3 separate regions of the Homo sapiens genome follow, and all the other regions are linked to region 2. Evidence: promoter capture Hi-C in 16 types of primary human blood cells and fetal thymus (Javierre and others, 2016). All regions are on one chromosome and are shown on one strand. The core of a region is centred on a gene start or on the middle of the fragment in contact, and the rest is flanking DNA. Distances in the headings are between cores, read along the strand shown.

The links. The method cuts DNA at HindIII sites, captures the fragments that hold promoters and counts their contacts. A CHiCAGO score of 5 or more calls a contact.
Region 1: a contact is called between a fragment that was not itself captured here and the fragment with the promoter of UCHL5 in region 2, in 1 of 17 cell types (neutrophils). The highest score is 5.8, in neutrophils.
Region 3: a fragment that was not itself captured here is called in contact with the fragment with the promoter of UCHL5 in region 2 in 5 of 17 cell types (monocytes, neutrophils, M2 macrophages and 2 more); the score reaches 10.5 in monocytes.

What each region holds. Positions count from the first base shown.
Region 1 is chr1:192,743,104-192,745,803 of GRCh38, forward strand. No RefSeq gene overlaps it. Among named protein-coding and RNA genes, the nearest start is that of MIR4426, 28 kb to the left of the region's middle. The HindIII fragment of the contact is 832 bases long and covers 912-1,743 here.
Region 2 is chr1:193,057,898-193,060,655 of GRCh38, forward strand. It overlaps UCHL5 (ubiquitin C-terminal hydrolase L5), which reads right to left and starts at 1,463. Exons shown (of 11, transcript NM_001199261.3): 1 at 1,288-1,463. The coding sequence starts at 1,363. It overlaps RO60 (Ro60, Y RNA binding protein), which reads left to right and starts at 1,715. Exons shown (of 9, transcript NM_001173524.2): 1 at 1,715-1,879. RefSeq lists enhancers at 815-1,124, 1,149-1,881, 1,285-1,814, 1,882-2,614. The HindIII fragment of the contact is 5,498 bases long and covers 1-2,758 here.
Region 3 is chr1:192,787,664-192,790,368 of GRCh38, forward strand. The region is part of intron 1 of LOC105371665 (a long non-coding RNA gene); the gene reads right to left. Among named protein-coding and RNA genes, the nearest start is that of RGS2, 20 kb to the right of the region's middle. The HindIII fragment of the contact is 744 bases long and covers 902-1,645 here.

The DNA of each region.
Region 1 (2,700 bases), core at 78-2,577, 310 kb before region 2:
CTGTGATAACTGATCATCATTCTTGGCCCATAATCTGCAAATTGACAATTTAAAACCGTTGCAATTGCAAGTGTTCAAAGCCATTCCAGTTGCAGGCTTCTGTTTGCTTTTCAATGGTTTTCAGTGTCTTTTCAGTCCAGCATTTTACAGTTGTTATCTGCAACTACTTTACTTCTCTGCCATTAATTACAATCTTTTTTGACCTATCATTTACCACACATCTAATAATGACAAAATATGTACTAATAAGTTACATTAAATAACTAGCTTATTCAGCACAACAATTCTATTAGATTTCTGTTAAGATTGAGCTCAAACAAGTTAACTAACATACTCAACATCATTAACTAAAAAATTCTAGGACTAGGAATTAAATACAGGATTAGGAATTAAATCTCTCTGCCTCCAGCATTATTCAGTAATACATTTGCTATAATCAAATAATAATAACAGTTAATCTTTAATGCCCTCTTGCTATGTACCAGGCATGGTACTCAAAAATTTAGACTTAATTCTAATTAATACATTTAGTCCTCACAGTAAGCCTATGAAATGGGTACTCTTATCAACTGTTTTATAGATGAGAAAACATTAGCCACAGCTTAGCTTATTTGAAGTCACAATAATATTAACTAAGTAAGAGCAAAAGCCAAGATTCAAATGTAGATTATTTTACTACAGACTGAGAAACGAATTAAACTAGGAGCCTAAGATACTTTCTGGAATTGAAATGATACATTATATATACCTATAAAGATAATTGACTATAGCTTCCTAAACTACAAATTGTCATAAAAATGACTTCTGTCCTATATCAATTAGAAACTGGTATTAAAATTGAGTATTATAAGACAATAGAATGTCTAGAGCTTTTAATACATTGATATCAATATCAATTGATAGACTTCAAAAGCTTCATAATTCATTTATTCAAATAAATAGACTTTAAAACATTGGCTAAACAGTGACTTTTTAAAATCTATAACAGGTGGAGCTCTTTAAAAAATAATTTTTGTTTTATATCCAAGTGATTACTTTTATAACAGCTGAAAATTATTTCCTTAATAAGCTATGTACCAAAAATATTAATAATTTAAATGTTGCTTTTGTATACAGTCCTTCCAAACACACAAGCACCATTACCAAAATCAACATTACCACTTTACTATTTTTATTGCTTGTTTACCAGAATTTCACACACTGGTTTTCCAATTAGATACCTAAATTCTATTGTTAATCCTGAGTCATTCTACAAATGAAGATAAAATTGAGAGAATGATTATTGTCATGTAACTTAACAAATGTTTTTTAAGTAAACTTAGTAAAAGCAGTTACTTTTGAGAAAGCCAATTTTAGGCAATAAACCTACATAGAATCAACTTGTGGAAGATGCAGTGATCTATACAAATCGAGAACTAGGGAAATGAAAACTATCTTAAGGTGATTGCTAAATTTAGATCTCCTAGAGTAGACTCTTTAAGTGAGTTGGAAACTCCCATAGGTAAGTTTATCTGTTTCGGGTAACTATTTTCCTAATGCAAACGTAGCTACAGTTTTCATCCATGGATTCCACAAAATGATATAATCACCTTTTCCTTTGTTCCACCAAAGCCCACAAGGCTGATGATGGTCAGATAACTTATTTCTATAATTACCATATGCTTTGACTTCCAATAAGAAAATAACTGAGAAAACCAGGGAATAAATACAAAGAAGTGTTACACCTGGGGAAAGTATTAGTTAAGCTTCTTGGCCCAGTAGGCTTTAACAAAAAAAAAAAAAAAAAAAAATCAAAGCAAGCAATCCTCCAAAGAAATCCACTCTAGTTATTCCTTACTGCAAGTAAATCCAAATCAAATTAACAAGGGCATTGACTCTAAATAAGGTAGCTCTATCTTAAAGTAACTAATATTTTGCGATGTGATGTATAAAAGACAATACAATAGACAAGACCTCTTTAAATTGTGAGTTGGCTGAAATTGGACTATTTCCATTTCATTTCCTGAAACACAACATACGTTTCATTATTGCAAGTAATTTCTTTAAAAACATCTAGCTACACATTAAAAAATTTATAAGCACTTCAGGGTATTTTTCTCAGCCACTGAAAAATATCTAATTAAATATTGTCATGTACAACATTCATAAAAGAAACATGAAAATAGTCCCTCAAGCCAATTATGTTCCCTTCCCTAGAACGTTTTACTCTCAGAAAGTTCTCAACTCATCTGCACCAGGCCATAGTTGTTGATATCGCTAAAATAGACAGTATTACTAATTGTCTCTCAGTAATAGACTCTTTAAAGTTGAAAGTCCTTCTAGATACAAAGAAAGAAATCATACTGAGAAATGTAGACACAATGAAAAAACAATGAGTGAGCTACCTTTTCCGAGCAGAGAGCATTTATTTCTCAGTATCTTCTTTAATCACACTATGTGGGTGACCCTCTAATTTATCAGTTCATTAACCTGGCCAATGAACTGGCCAGGACCTACTAGTCCTGAATGAATAGGACCTACCGGTAAAGACTAATTTTGCATTGGGCCTGTTTGTCACTGTACTCGTACTCAAGGAAGAAGAGCTCAAGAGCTTTGACTGTTTCTGAGACATAAGAGGAAAAGGAAGAGCAGAGAAGCAGTTGATAGTTGAAATGGGATATTGGAATGTACTGCAAAAACAGGATAAACTCTTAAATTTGA
Region 2 (2,758 bases), core at 213-2,712:
TTATTCGAAACAGCAGTTATGGTTTATTCACATGAAAATTTCCCAATCCTTGGGTGGGCGCGTGGCTCACGCCTGTAATCCCAACACTTTGGGAGGCCGAGGCGGGTGGATCACGAGGTCAGGAGCTGAGACCAGCCTGGCCAGCATGGTGAAACCCTGTCTCTACTAAAAAAAAAAAAATTAGCCGGGCATGGTGGCGCGTGCCTGTAATCCCAGCTACTCGGGAGGCTGAAGTAGGAGATTCGCTTGACCCCGAGAGATGGAGGTTGCAGTGGGCCAAGATCGCGCCACTGCACTCCAGCCTGGGCGACAGAGCGAGACTCTGTCTCAAACAAAAAAAAGAAAATTTCCCAATCCTTACCACTGTGCCTGAGATATAGAAGATGAACAACATATGCTTGATAAATGACATTCCAAATATTAAGCTGTGTACAACAGGCAATATCTACATCAACGTTTAATTGTTAATCCCGCGTAAAAGTTTTAACATCGTAGAGTCAATAACACTTGGGAAATAGATAAAAACGTACTGTCCAAAGAAGAGACTAAGAACAAGATAAATAGGGAAGGATAAAAAGTAAAATGTGTTGATTATTTAGGACGAAAGGCACTAAATACAGCCAGAGAGAAACTGTGAGGAAAGCATGTGGCCTCTAGTCTAGAACACTAGCTCAAGAAAACTCACTTCACCGGAAGCCAGAAATGAGCAGAGAGCGGAACCAGTGAAGTGGCCTTTCAGGCCCACGCAGTCAGCGTGTGTGGACGTCCCGAAGAGCTATTCACACATTCAAGGCGTTCTGCTTTGAATAACCAGAATCTCGAGTTCCTGGGCGGCTTGAGCCGCAGACACCTCACCCTTGAGAAGGCGCACCCTAGGGTGGCTTCTGCAGGACTAATGGCCTGAGCAATGCACTTGACCTCACCAGCCCGGGATAAGGTGCGCGCCGCAGAGAAGGGGCAGTGCAAAGGGCAATACGTGCTTAAGAGCTTGGGGAGCGAGGGCCCTCAAGTCAATTACAGGATTTGGGTGCCAGGTCCTGAGGATGCAGCAGGCACAAGACTGACACGATCCTTGCCCTCGTGGTGTGGCTCTACAAATTACTGTGGAAACGCGACTGTCTCGAGCTGAGGAGAGGGCAGAACATCTACATTTCCCCCACCCGGACTCCAGGTTCCTGAAGTCACCTCTCCAGACGCGGGGCGGCGGTGGCCGCAGGGAACCACTCCATGCCCAGCTTGGGCCTCCTCCCGTGACCCCAGGCCCAGGACGGTCCCCTTGGTTCTCACCGAATCCTTTAATGAGCTCGGTGAAGACCCCGGGGTCGCTTTCCATGAGGCACCACTCCCCGGCATTGCCCGTCATGGCCCTGGCCACACACCGCCCCGATCCACCTCTCGCTCTCAGCTGCCCCCCGCACCAGCTGCCGCCGGCCACAGATCTCAGCAAACCCGCCGCCGAGCTCGTCAACCACACGTCACCCCGCCTACTTCCCGACAGCCTCCGGGCGCCGTCACCTGCAGCGCGACTGAGCGCGGGAGGACGCTCTAGCCACCCTAGAGACATCGAAACTCTTCCCAGGCCTTGCAGCACCCGTAGCGGATTCGGAAGGGCTGGGGCCTGAGAAGAAAGGGCGGTGATTCACAGCGCCGAGGAGGCAACATCCGGGATCCTCGCCCCTCTGGGGCGGAGGCGGGGCAAAAGAAGAGGGGCAGGACTCGTTCCCGGGAACCGAACCTGGAATCCCCGGCGGCAGTGGGGCTGTTGCTGTTGCTGTGGCTGTCGCTGCCCGTCAGGCTGCCTTCTTTTGTCGTTTCCCAGCGCTGCGCAGGACTTCTCCTGGCGGCGCTGCGGATCCAGGGGGTCGGCTGCCAGGTACAGGTGAGGACATTGCGGGAGGCCGGCTGGGAGCCTTTTGTGCGGCCCCAGGGACGCGCAAATTCTGACCAGTCCTCCATGTCTCTCACCCGCATCCCAGGGGTTGAGGCTGGGCAAACGCCGCGAAACTATCGCTCTTCCCCGTCCCGCTTCCGCGCCTGTCCACCCTGGGTAACGGAACCAGCATCGCGGTAGGGACATCCTCGCTAGGCCCGGCCGGACCATTCCTCAGGGTGGGCCCTTTCCGAAGCCGGGACCGCTCCTGCTTGTCGGCATCGCTCCCCACAGGCCGACGTCGAGAGGGCCTGCTTTACTCCTCCTCTTTCTCCTCCTTCTCCCGCGGCTTCTGCGCGGAGAGGCGTCGCCCGGGATCTGGGTTTTGGAAGAAGGATCTTTGTGGGAAGACAGGGTGAATTTATCACAGAGGAATAACGAGGGAGAGGAGAAAGGTTTGTCCATGGGGCTGCTAGACTAGTGGAAGGGGATGCGGTGCGTCAAGGGAAAATTAGGTTGAAAACAAATGTCGTGTATTAATCTAAAAACATTTGGAATGGTTCTAAAACTGGATGATGAGTTAAACCAAATATTTACTAAATATTTACTAAATTGCCCTCATTCAGCAGGCTCTTATAGAATACTATAGTGTTAAGATTAAAGTTTTTAAGAGTATATTGAAGTCGTTAAGTGTATATTTACTCCTTAAAAGCTACATATTCCAAGAAAGACCTTTGGCTTCCAGAAAAAAAAAATGTTTTAGTGGGTAAAACTCTGACTCCTTCCTTCTCAAATAGGTGACTTGTGCCCTGGAGTTAGGGAGCCTTGTGCTACAGATTATGTGAAGCCATGAAATAAACGTGGTAAATTTTATTGAGGGAAGCAACA
Region 3 (2,705 bases), core at 24-2,523, 270 kb before region 2:
GCTTTCAGTATATACCAAGTATTAGAATGAACAAAGTGTCAAGTCATGGAGTTAGGAGGACAAAACAAAATGCTAGGATAATACGGTTCACGTTGCATTTCGCATTTTTAAGAATATATTCCATGACTTCTAAAATTATTCCAAGACTTTACTACTCAAATCTTTCTTTTTTAGCATGTTTATTATGTTGTGATCCACGTCAATTTTATCTTCTCCAATTGTTAACTGGCCACATTCCCAAATTCTCATTTATCAATGGCTTTTCTGTTGACAACTTCATTAAATTCTACATCTTTTGCAAATTTTACTATTATGCTTTGAATTACATTTACATTGTATATGAGTGGTTTGTTAATCACCAAGACTAATAATAAGTGGGGAGGAGTTTTGGGTGGGAAATATATAGTCTTCTGTTCATTCATGAATATTTTCTTATGTGATGGCTTTGGGGCTCCCTGTGCACTCAATTTGGGGACTAAGGTAATGAATAATCAGAAAAGAAAGACACCCTATACCCTGTGAGTGTAAAAATGAGACTTTGTTTGGCACACAGTAAGCCTCTAATGGTTTCTTATTTGTATTTTTTAAAATAACGCAATAAGCAGAAGCCACTGGCAGAAACAAGGAGAGAAGAAAGGCGTAACGAATCAGTGATGGAACAGGAAGGAATCAACTGAGGGAAGCAAAGGGCTGCTGAGTCACAAGCATGACAGGCAACTAGAATCAGCCCGGGCTCCCCAGAGCTGCTGCTCATCCTGAACACTGCGGGCTTGCTCAGAATTTCCTGGCTGTCCTTTCAGACTTCGTGTGCATCGTGACAATACACCACTCTCACCTAACGGAATCTAAGGATGTCGCTACCCTGAAATAGCCAAATATTCCAGTTGAATCTATTTGTTAAAGCTTAGTCAACCAGATTTGTTTCTAAGGAGACACTGACAATAAAAATAAAAATGAAAAACAGAAAAACATTATTTTCCCTGCATAAAAGAGCCCTTTTCTTTTTAGATCTTCCTGAGTCTCAAAACTGTTCTCTTCCTTGAGTTTCAACAAATCCCAAAGGACTCTTTCTTCAACTTTCACATAAAAGAAAACAATTCCTTAATAATATATTAAGTGTATCATTAGCAATTTACAATTCACAAAGCATTGTATATCACATTTACAAACGGAGGGTTTAAATATAACAAACCCTGTAAATGGAATGTAGAAATGTTCATTTTTAATAAGATCCCTAGTTAACTAATCAATCCCTTATTTCACATTTTCCACTACTAAATGAGAATCCACTTCCAGTTTTACCTTTCTAGGAATATTTGTATGTCATCTAAAGTTGTGAGTGTTTGTTTGTTTGTTTGTTTATTTGTTTTGAGACAGGTTCTTGCTCTGTCGCCCAGGCTGAAGTCCTACAGCACTATTGCAGCTCACTGCGGCCTCGACCTCGTAGGCTCAAATGAACCTCCCACCTCAGCCCCCTGAGTAGCTGGGACTACAGGCACACACCACCACTCCTAGCTAATTTTTGTATTTTTGGAGACAGAGGGTTTCTTTATGTTGCCCAGGTTAGTTGTGTTTAAAAACTCTTTAGCCACACATACATGAAGAGTCTCTTGGTTTATTTCATAAATTACTAGTATCATCTATAAGCTTTTCATTCACTAATTCATTATTTTATTCAACAATTGTATATTGAGCAGACACTTACTATGTACCCAGTAATGCATTAGGGACTGGATCTCAGTAGCTTAACTTTCAGAGTCAAACTTTTGGAGACCATCATGACACAGCCAGGATAGCCATGAGGAGACCTGTTGATGGCAAACCAAGAGGAGCTTCCTAAGGAAACACTAAACGCATGTGACTAAATTCTACAGTAGAAAAATTACAGACTTGGAATTCAAATCCCAGCTCTGCCATTGACTTGCTTGCTATTGATTTGGGGCAGTGCCTTTGCCTCTCCAAACACCTATAAAATGGGAACAATAGCACCTATCTCATTGTGGCACCAGGGTAGGACATAATGGTAATATATGTGAAGCGTCTGGTCAGTCAACATCTAATAAGTGTTCAATAACAAACAACTGCTGTTCTTATGAAAGGGGGGTAGCCTTTTTTCTAAGGGAGGTTCTTGGAAACCCCAATATTATGTATTATTAACATTATTATTTTTAGATGGAAAAAACTTAAGCACAGAGAAGTTAAACCATTTATTCATGTAACAATTTTTTTAGCACTATGGGGGGTACTAATCTCTGCAAATACAGGATTCAGAGGACAGAGTTTGAACCCAGCGCATTCACTGTCTCACAGAGGAGACACAGGATAGTGCTAAGTGCCCCAGAAAGGGAAGAACAGGTTTGTGGGAAAACACAGAGAATGAGCTCATTCAGAATGCAGGGTAGAGTGGGTGACAAGGAGGCTCCCCAGAGGGAAAGTCCTAGTTGAGCTGGAAAGGAAGCATCCTGACCAAAGCCTGGCCTTGAAACCAAATCGCTGTCTCCAAGATCAGTGAACTTCCTACTATGCCAAAGCCTCTTTAATTAAATTCAATTAAATGTTTTCTTAGCACCCACTCTATGGAAAAGTCTGTCCTAGATGGAAACAAAGGTGAATCATTATAGTTCTTATCTCATGAAAGCAAAGGCAAATAAGACAGGCATTCAGATAACCAACTCAAAACATAAAGAGGCAAAAGAGAGTTTCAT